Regions from separate parts of the Homo sapiens genome. Here region 1 is linked to region 2. Evidence: promoter capture Hi-C in 16 types of primary human blood cells and fetal thymus (Javierre and others, 2016). All regions are on one chromosome and are shown on one strand. Each heading gives the region's core, a stretch centred on a gene start or on the middle of the fragment in contact. The rest is flanking DNA. Distances are from core to core; before and after follow the strand shown. Region 1 has its middle 4.2 kb from the start of SLC43A3. Region 2 holds the start of OR5B21 (olfactory receptor family 5 subfamily B member 21).

What was found. Contacts are between HindIII fragments. The CHiCAGO score rates a contact against its expected background, and 5 or more counts as called.
Region 1: a contact is called between a fragment that was not itself captured here and the fragment with the promoter of OR5B21 in region 2, in 1 of 17 cell types (total B cells). The highest score is 5.4, in total B cells.

What each region holds. Positions count from the first base shown.
Region 1 is chr11:57,429,026-57,433,539 of GRCh38, reverse strand. No RefSeq gene overlaps it. Among named protein-coding and RNA genes, the nearest start is that of SLC43A3, 4.2 kb to the right of the region's middle. The HindIII fragment of the contact is 3,624 bases long and covers 1-3,287 here.
Region 2 is chr11:58,505,153-58,509,755 of GRCh38, reverse strand. It overlaps OR5B21 (olfactory receptor family 5 subfamily B member 21), which reads left to right and starts at 1,651. Exons shown (of 1, transcript NM_001005218.3): 1 at 1,651-2,949. The coding sequence starts at 1,651. The coding sequence ends at 2,580. LOC105369313 (a long non-coding RNA gene) reads left to right here. Exons shown (of 5, transcript XR_007062673.1): 3 at 4,214-4,287. The HindIII fragment of the contact is 6,996 bases long and covers 1-2,794 here.

The sequences.
Region 1 (4,514 bases), core at 226-2,725, 1.1 Mb after region 2:
TACTATCAGGCTGAAGAGGACACAGAGAGGACTTCTGTATGGGGAAGGGAACATCAAGACAGGATTCCTGGAGGCAGATCACATTGGCACAGGAAAAGAGGTACTTCAGCATAATGGTGAAAACATGGGCTCTGGATACTGGGAAGTCTATCTCTTCCCATTTACTGGCTGAGTGACTTGGCCAAGTTACTTCATCTCTTGAGGCCTCAGTTTCTTCATCTTTAAAGTTGGCATAATGATAGTACCTCCGCCTCCTTATGGGGTGGCTGTGGGCATCAAATAATAATATATATTACATATAGCTCTTAGCCCAATGCCTGTCCCAAAAGCAGCACTCAGTAAATGACTGTCATTACTGTTGTCATTATTAATACCCAAAAGGGTGCTTTCATTGAGAATTCTAGAAAGGCACACATTTGAGGCCTGCTGCCTCCCTGATGCCCCTGAGGCAATTTTGTCTTAAAAGGAATAAGGATTGAGTCTGTGTTTGCTTTAAGACCTGGAGGGCAGAATGCTTTTTGCAGATAGGGCTCTTTCCTTGAGAGTGGTCACAGCCCATCTTGCGGTTTTGCAGCCCACGAGGAGAGCTGCATGTACAATCTATAAGAACCCATCAGCCCCGGGAACTTCCGTGGTTTCTGAGTCACTCTCAGGCCACTTCAGCTTCCAAGCAGAGGCTCCCAGGGCGGACTCACCATATAGGCCTTTTCTGCCCTCTCCCGTGCAGCATCTGGAGGAACATTGCAGCACCCCACGACAGATCCCTGCTTAATGTCAGCCTCTGTACAGAGTCCCAGCATTTCAGCAAGTCAGGGCTAAGAGAGGTTCAGCACTCGCTTCACAGAGGTAGGAATGGAGGCCCCAAGAGAGAAAGGTGCCCGGGGCAGCCCACCCAGGGGGCTCCAGAGCCAGGACTGGACCCTGGGTCTCCCACTTCCTTGTCCAGTGCTCTGTCTACAGTCCGCAGTGGAGCCTTCCCTAATTTCACCACAGACTTGCTTCTGGTCTAATGCCATGCCTTGAGTATCATCTGGGGTTCCCATCCTACATGTGCTCTCCTGGCAAGTGGAGGTTCCCCTCCACCCCAGCTTCTCCTTCTCCCTCCAGCTAATCCCTACCCACTTCCCCATCCTCCAGCACCATGGAAACTGTTCCAGTCTCTTCCGGCTTCCCTTTGCCTTTTTCCACAACAAAAGTCCAGTGTTCAATCGGCCCCAGCAGTTTCCTGCTCTTTTCATCTTTGGGGTGTTGGGCAAAGCTCTCAATGTGAAAAACCCCGTTGTTTTCACTCAGGAGTCGTCTCCTTCTCCTGGATCCATTTCCTCTTTTCATGATCATGCGTGTGGGTGGGTGTGGTGTCTGTGTGAGCAGGGCAGGGAGACACAGAATCACAGAGAGGCAGCACTACTCTCTTGTTTTAATCAAGGGTGCTGTCTGAAAGAATTACCCATCTTCATTCCTATTAGTAATAACTGGTACCCCCATCAACCCGATTCCAGAACTCATGCTCTGTGTAGCTCTTGGGAAGCCTCCCAGGAAGGCTGGGTAGGGCACAGATTAAGAGCATCAGCTGGCTGGGCATGGTGGCTCACGCCTGTAATCCTAGCACTTTGTGGGGCCAAGGCAGGCAGAACACTTGAGCCCAGGAGTTTGAGACCAGTCTGGCCAACATGGCGAAACCCCATCTCTACAAAAAATGCAAAAAAATTAGCTGGGCATGGTGGTGCACGCCTGTAATCCCAGCTACTCGGGAGGCTGAGGCAGGAGAATCACTTGAACCTGGGAAGTGGAGGCTGCAGTGAACTGAGATCACACCATTTCACTCCAGCCTTGGTGACAGAGTGAGATGCTGTCTCAAAAAAAAAAAAAAAAAAAAAAAAAAAAGCATTAGTTTCAGTCAGAGCATCAGGTTTCTATCCCAGTCCTGACACTGCTACCTGGTGATGTTGGGGGAGTTGCTTCGTCCCTCTAGGCCTCAGTTGGCCCAGATAATAGATGCTAATAACAACACCTATCGTGAGATTCAGTGACAGATTAAGCAAAAAGCGCTTCGAATCAGATACATAGTCAGTGCTCAGTGCCCAGCAGGTATTATTGATATTCCTTATTTTTCTTCTCAGGGGTAGGACGTGCCTCCATGTTGACACAGTGTTCCCCAGCCTAGTCCTTAGAGTTGCAGGTTTAGATATTGTCAGTGCACTGAGGCATTCCTTTCTAGCAAAGTCTATCGGGAAGTGCAGTTACCAGTAAACAGTTGCTTGATGAACATAGAAGTGGAGCTGGGGCTTGGGAGGGTGGGTAGCAGTAGCCTCATAAGCCCTGGTGTGGTGGGGCTTGGGGCTCTGCTTTCTCTTAGGCCTGGCCCAGTGCTTCCAGTATCTGGTCTGGTGGGGGAGCTCTGTTTTCTGCATGGTGAAAGGGAGGCTGATCCAGGCTGATCCTCTGCTGCCTCTAGCATCCACTGAAGCTGAGCTGGCTGCTCTGAGGGGCCAGAGTGGCCCCCACCCTCCAGTGCCTCTTTGGGTATCCTTTCAGATTCACCTCTGTTAAAGAGAAAGGTCTCCCCAGAGCAAGGAGGCCTCATATTTACTTGGCTATGTAGTAGTTCCCCACCCTCCTGAGAACTGCTTTGAACACACTAGGAGATACCCTGAAGAGCCAGCTCTAAGACTCCATCCCCTTCCTGTCTACTGTGGCTCATGAACAGACTTCCCACAGCTTACAGGACAATCCAAGCCCCTGCCTTAAGCCCAGACAGTCTTGGGGGGTTGTACTGAGTGCATTTGGGTGTCATCTAGAGATCAGTTCTCTAGGGTGGGACTTCTTAAGCAAGGTAAACTGAGCTCACCCATTACTTAGTGGTTTTCCCCCTAATTTATTTCTTTTTTAGGTTAGGAACACTTTGAAATTCTCCCTAAATGTGACTTTATTTCCTCTTTGTTTTCCAGTAAGTCAATAATATTTGTTAACAACAGTAGCTGCTATTTATTAATAGTGTACTAATTGGGCAGTTTTCATACATTATCTTTAATCCATACAGCTCGATTCCAATTTTATAGATGAGGAGACGGAAGCTCAGAGATACCAGTAATTGGCTCGATAGCAGTGTGCTTGTATTATTTTTGGCACTGCCTCAAGAGGATTAGAATTTTCTCTGCAGGTGAAATGATGTTTGCATTTACCTTTTGCTTTCTGACTTCCAAAACAGGCTGTAGAAACCCCTTTCAAGACCGTAGGTGGAAAACCAAACATTTTAATTTACATGAGCCCATTGTGAAAGGAAAGCTTATGTTTGTTTGTTTATGTGTTTGGCGTATCCGAAATCAAAGCCCTTTATGTGAATGGCTCAGAGTTTATCTACATATACAAATTTAGAAAGTGATGTCAGAGGGTAGGAGAGAATATCTGGACTCTGCCCAGAGAGTGGCAATTGCCCTCGCTGAGGTTGTTCAGAGGAAGTTTGAGGAGAGAGGTCTGTGGACAGGCAGGGACTGCATTGGAAGGTGGTGCTCTTGAGGACTAGAGGATACTAGCCATTGTTTGTGCCAGGGGAATGATGGAGTGCAGCTCACTTATACTGCCCTCTTTGGCAAACCCTCTTTCCCTAACCTAAACATATCCATCTTCCCACTCTGTCCATAAAAACATCCATAGGGTGGATCCTGGATATCCAGACTTGCTGATGATGGGAAGGAAAACCACCTCCAGCATTGGTACTTGGGCAGTAGGATGCAGGAGATCCAGTTCTATGCTCCCTCTTCCCCTCAAAGCAATGTCTCATGGCTGGCATCCCCAGACCCTGGACTGGTCCTTACCAGCCAGTTGACTGGACCTCAGAAGGGTTTTGAGCAGTTAAGTGAAGCCATCCAGTGGGAACCATGGAAATAAACTCTTGCAGGAGAATGGCGATGGCTTGGAAGCAGATGATGCCTCTGTGAGAGATGATGAGTGTCTGCATAGAGCAGTGGCCACGGATAGATAGGAGAGATATTAAGGGGTGAAATCAATAGGACATGATTGATTGATGTGGGCTGAATTCTTAATGCCCTCACTTAGATGGCGACGCTGGCCTCAAATCTTTCCACTTTCTTCACCACCCTGTGCTCTAGCTGGTTCCTAAATGTTATTGTTTTGTTGAGGTTCCGTGCCTTTCAATGTGCTGTGCTAGCATCTGCCTGGAAGACCATTCCCACACTCCAGAAATCTTGGGTTTCTTTGTCTGTCTCTCCCACAAGAGAATGAGCCCCTTGAGAGCAGGCACTGAATCTCTTCTCTACGAATCCCGGCACTTGGCACAGAGCCTGAGGTACCACATGTATTTGTTGAACCAATCAGTCAATTAAAAAAAAAAAGGTGTGAGATGATGAGGAAGGAGGCGAAGAGAAAAGGATGAAGACATCGGGTGCACCGTCAGACCTTATTATAATCACTTCTCTCTCTGATGTTACTCATTAATCCTCATTGGAGCCACGCAGGAGAGTGATCAGAATAGCATCTGCCTTTTCTAGCTGCTG
Region 2 (4,603 bases), core at 402-2,901:
AGTATACACACATGTCAAAAGTCAAAAGAAAAACAAGTTAAAAAAGGCTGGATAAATATAATAGAAAGTGATGCTGGTCAGAAAGTCAATTAGTACATTACTGGATAGTAATGTACCAAGCTGACTGAGCCAGTTCTTATGAAACTAGCCACATCGTGTGTGTGTGATGGTCATCCAAAAAGGACAAGCTACACTATCCCCTTCTTTTTGTGTCACCAATCAAATTGCTGCTGTTACTCTTCAAGGTAAGCTAAAGTCCAGCAGAGCTGAAGCATTTTTCTCCTTTAATTCCTGTTTTCTCCTTTTTCCTCCTCTCTTCTCACATTTTCTCCCTCACTTCTTCTGAGTCTGCTCCCACTCACTCTGCTACTAGGAGTGGGGAAAGCCTGTGAACACCTCAGGTTGAGGAACAAAAATAGGAGAGAAAGAATGCTCTAAAATGAGGACAGAAACCTGTCTCCAGGCCTGACCATCTGCAAACTCACTGTTACTCCTGAATATTTTTCATATGACAAGTCTAAGCTAATATTTTGGCCCAAAGCACAAACCTGGTAGACAAGAGGATGATAGGATGTTTGTTGTGGGATTAAAGAGCATGAAAAATATTTCCATACTTTCCTATTGATGTTCTGTTTGATTCACCAAATATTTACATACATGTGTGAGGGGCCATGGTAAGGAGAGTGGACCAGAGGGGATGAAGATAGTTACTGTCCCAAGGGGCTTAGAGCTAGGTGAAGAGTGAGTGGTTGCCCAGCTAATTGTGCAATAATCAGCCAAGACTCAAGTGCTTTGAGGAGGGAGAGAAAGGAGGACTTAACTGGAATTAGGGTCTACAGCAAAGACTTCTGATAAGGGGTGAAAAAAGACATATGCATATACACAGATACACAAAGCCATTTGTATATATCAAATTTATAGTTTTATATTAAATATATATAAATACATACTCATATTTACATATACCATACTCCCTTTCAGTTGAACTACTGTTGAGGGATTAATTTATAAAGGCTTCAAAAGTTGTGGTTAAGATCTTTGGATTTAGTATCAAACAGACCTTGAGGGCACCACCTTGTCCTGCCAACACCTTGATTTTGGCCCAGTGAAACTGATTTGAGGCTTCTGGCCTCCAGAATTTTGAGAGAATAAACTTGTGTTGTTTTAAGGAAAAATAAATTTAGAAAATCTTTAGTGAGGCTATATTATTGGAAGTAGAATGTGGAAGACAATAAGTGATGGATGTTTTTATTTTTAATAATTAAATACATACAATCTTATATCCACATCATAATTTGTATTTATATGATGTAAATGTGTTAAAGAATTCAAGATGAATGTATGAACTTTAGATTCAGAAATATAAAGGGGTGAACTTTGATTCTGACCCCTAGATAGGCTATCTTGCTCAATATTCAGCTCCCTGAGCCTTAACTTCCTTATCTGTAAGATGGGCATAATAGCACCTATCTCATATGAATTAAAAGCTATAATATAACAGAGGGTTCTAGGATGAGTGTTACACACAGTACATTCTCTCTATACATTAGTTTTCTCCTTTTTTATCATTCCATCCTCCCTTCTCATACTTTCATTGGAATTTTGTTGACGCCTCTTCTTTAATCACCAGGCTAATTCAAGCTGGCCACAATGGAGAATAGCACAGAAGTGACAGAGTTTATCCTCTTGGGATTAACAGATGACCCCAATCTTCAGATACCCCTCCTCCTGGCATTTTTATTCATCTACCTCATCACCCTGCTTGGGAATGGGGGAATGATGGTGATCATCCACTCAGACTCCCATCTCCACACTCCAATGTACTTTTTCCTCAGTAACCTCTCCCTTGTAGACTTGGGTTACTCATCAGCTGTAGCCCCCAAAACGGTGGCTGCATTGCGGTCAGGGGACAAGGCCATCTCCTACGATGGATGTGCAGCTCAGTTCTTCTTCTTTGTGGGGTTTGCCACTGTTGAGTGCTACCTCCTGGCCTCCATGGCCTATGATCGCCATGCAGCGGTATGTAGGCCTCTTCATTACACCACCACCATGACAGCAGGTGTGTGTGCCCTCCTTGCTACTGGTTCCTATGTCTCTGGCTTCCTCAATGCCTCTATCCATGCAGCAGGCACCTTCAGACTCTCCTTCTGTGGTTCTAATGAGATTAATCATTTCTTCTGTGACATTCCCCCACTCCTGGCTCTCTCATGCTCTGACACACGCATCAGCAAGTTGGTGGTCTTTGTGGCAGGCTTCAACGTCTTTTTCACCCTCCTGGTCATCCTTATTTCTTACTTCTTCATATGCATCACCATTCAGAGGATGCATTCTGCTGAAGGGCAGAAGAAAGTCTTCTCCACCTGTGCTTCCCATCTCACTGCTTTGTCCATCTTCTATGGCACAATCATCTTCATGTACTTACAGCCCAACTCCAGCCAGTCCGTGGACACAGACAAAATAGCCTCTGTGTTTTACACAGTGGTGATTCCCATGCTGAATCCCTTGATATACAGCCTTAGGAACAAAGAAGTGAAAAGTGCTCTCTGGAAAATACTCAACAAACTTTACCCCCAATATTAAATGTGAATGGGAAGTAGGCAAGCAATTAAGGGATAAACTTTCTCTCACACCTAAATGCCATCATGACTTTTAACGTTTGACTGGTTTCAGTTCTTTCTTCCCCAAGAACAGCGGTTACTTCTGCTATTAGAAGATGTAAAAAGCAGCACGTTGAAAGTCTTACTTAGAAAGATAATCTTATATTTAGTGAACAACAACATGGGACAGTTAAGCTTTTCTTGCTTTAGTTTCTTGACGTGGTTTAAAGCAGAAGATTGAAGCATACAAATGAATGTACCAAATTTTCCTCATCCTGTTTTTAATTGTAAGAATTTTTCATTCACTATTAAACTTGGTGTAAAGATTTCACCTTCATTTTTATCAACTGAACACACAGTATCTTTTTTATTCTTTTGTTCTGCGAGTTTGAAAGTTGGACTTTCTGAGGTAGACAAAGGATGTTTCAATATTTTAAATGATATTTGAGAGAAAGTTGTAATTTAAAGGACAAGGCACTAGATCGAGTCAGGTAGCTGACGATTAAATCTTTCCAACCCCTTACTCTCCCTTCTCTACCCACATTCCTATCCTACTCACTAGTCATGTGCCTTTGTAATTTCCATTCCCTTTTGCTAAATCATTGGGGAAACATTACACCTTGTTATATACAGAAATATGGGAATGCTTTAATAGATGAATTACTTCAACTTTAACCTGACTAAATACAACTTCCTTCGGAGAGCCTACACTATCTTTTATGTTTCTTGTCTCTGTCTAACATAATTACCAAAACTTCCAGAAGGTTTAGAGAAAAAAAGCAGTTTTCCCTAGAGCTATGAAAAAATATATTTGTTTTCTGAATTAAATGCTTGCATTTCTTAGCACCCTTAAGTTTGGTGAATCTATTATGAAGATATATAATAGCTTTCTGGACTGTCTTTGCTTTTACTTTTTCAATAATTCAGCTCACCTCTGGGTCTCCATTGCATTCCGGTGTTCTGTAATTAGATGCTACAAGAATAAAAAAGCCTGCCTGGAAATTTACTTCTTAGGAACAGCACGGTGACGCACAGTGCTAGTACACCTTCAGGTCTTGTTTCATGTGCTAGATGGTGTGAGCAAATGTGTGTGTGTGGGAAGGGAGTGGTGATTAATTTCACTTCTCACGTATCAACTCCTTGATGGTGTTTATAACTACAGTTAATCTAAGTCACCACAATAGATCATGATTTCAAAATCTCCCCAAAAAACCCAACAAATTAATTTTGACCTTATAGATGAAAACCAGAAATCTTGGTTGGCTAACTCAGTTGGCTTAAAATGTCAATTTAGTTTTCAGATTATCAAGCTCCATTATGTACAGGGCAGCCTCTGTCTGAGGAGGATAAATCATAAGTCTTCTGGGAAAAATTGCAAAGAAGGAGTTATGGAACATGAGAAACATGAGAATAGCTTTCTCTGGCACATGGTTGCCATCACCTGAAAAGATCAGGAGCTTCTGAGCCCAAGGCCTAGACAACCTATACCTCCCCCATTCAGCCCCCTCCCTCCCCTCTTCTTTAGCAATGAGGCCTATTCAGCAACACACAGGAAGAACAGCCTTTACAGGCCAGGATCCACTGCATATAGGAATCTTTCTCATTGAAATCTACAGAGCTCAAGAGTATCTGCATTTGGAGAAGAGCCTGGGAAGCAGCTATCCAAGCACTGGGTGCATTCCAATCTCAGGTACACATTTTCCCTACTTGATATAATTGACTTTTTTCCCTCCTCATCCTGCTCCTCCTTCTTTACTTCATTTTATCCTTCTCCTCTTTTTCTTTCCCAACTTCTTTCTATGCCCAGCCCAAGCAGGAACTTTCCTCACCACTAGGCCATTTAGATTTCTATAAAAAAATTAAAGTCTAGAGTCTATATATCATAACCATTACAGTATATATTAAGATGTGTATCTGGGCATGTTTATTTCTTTTATGGTTTTAATTTTTATTTCATTAGTTTTGGGGGTACAGGTTGTTTTTGGTTACATGGATAAGTCCTTTAG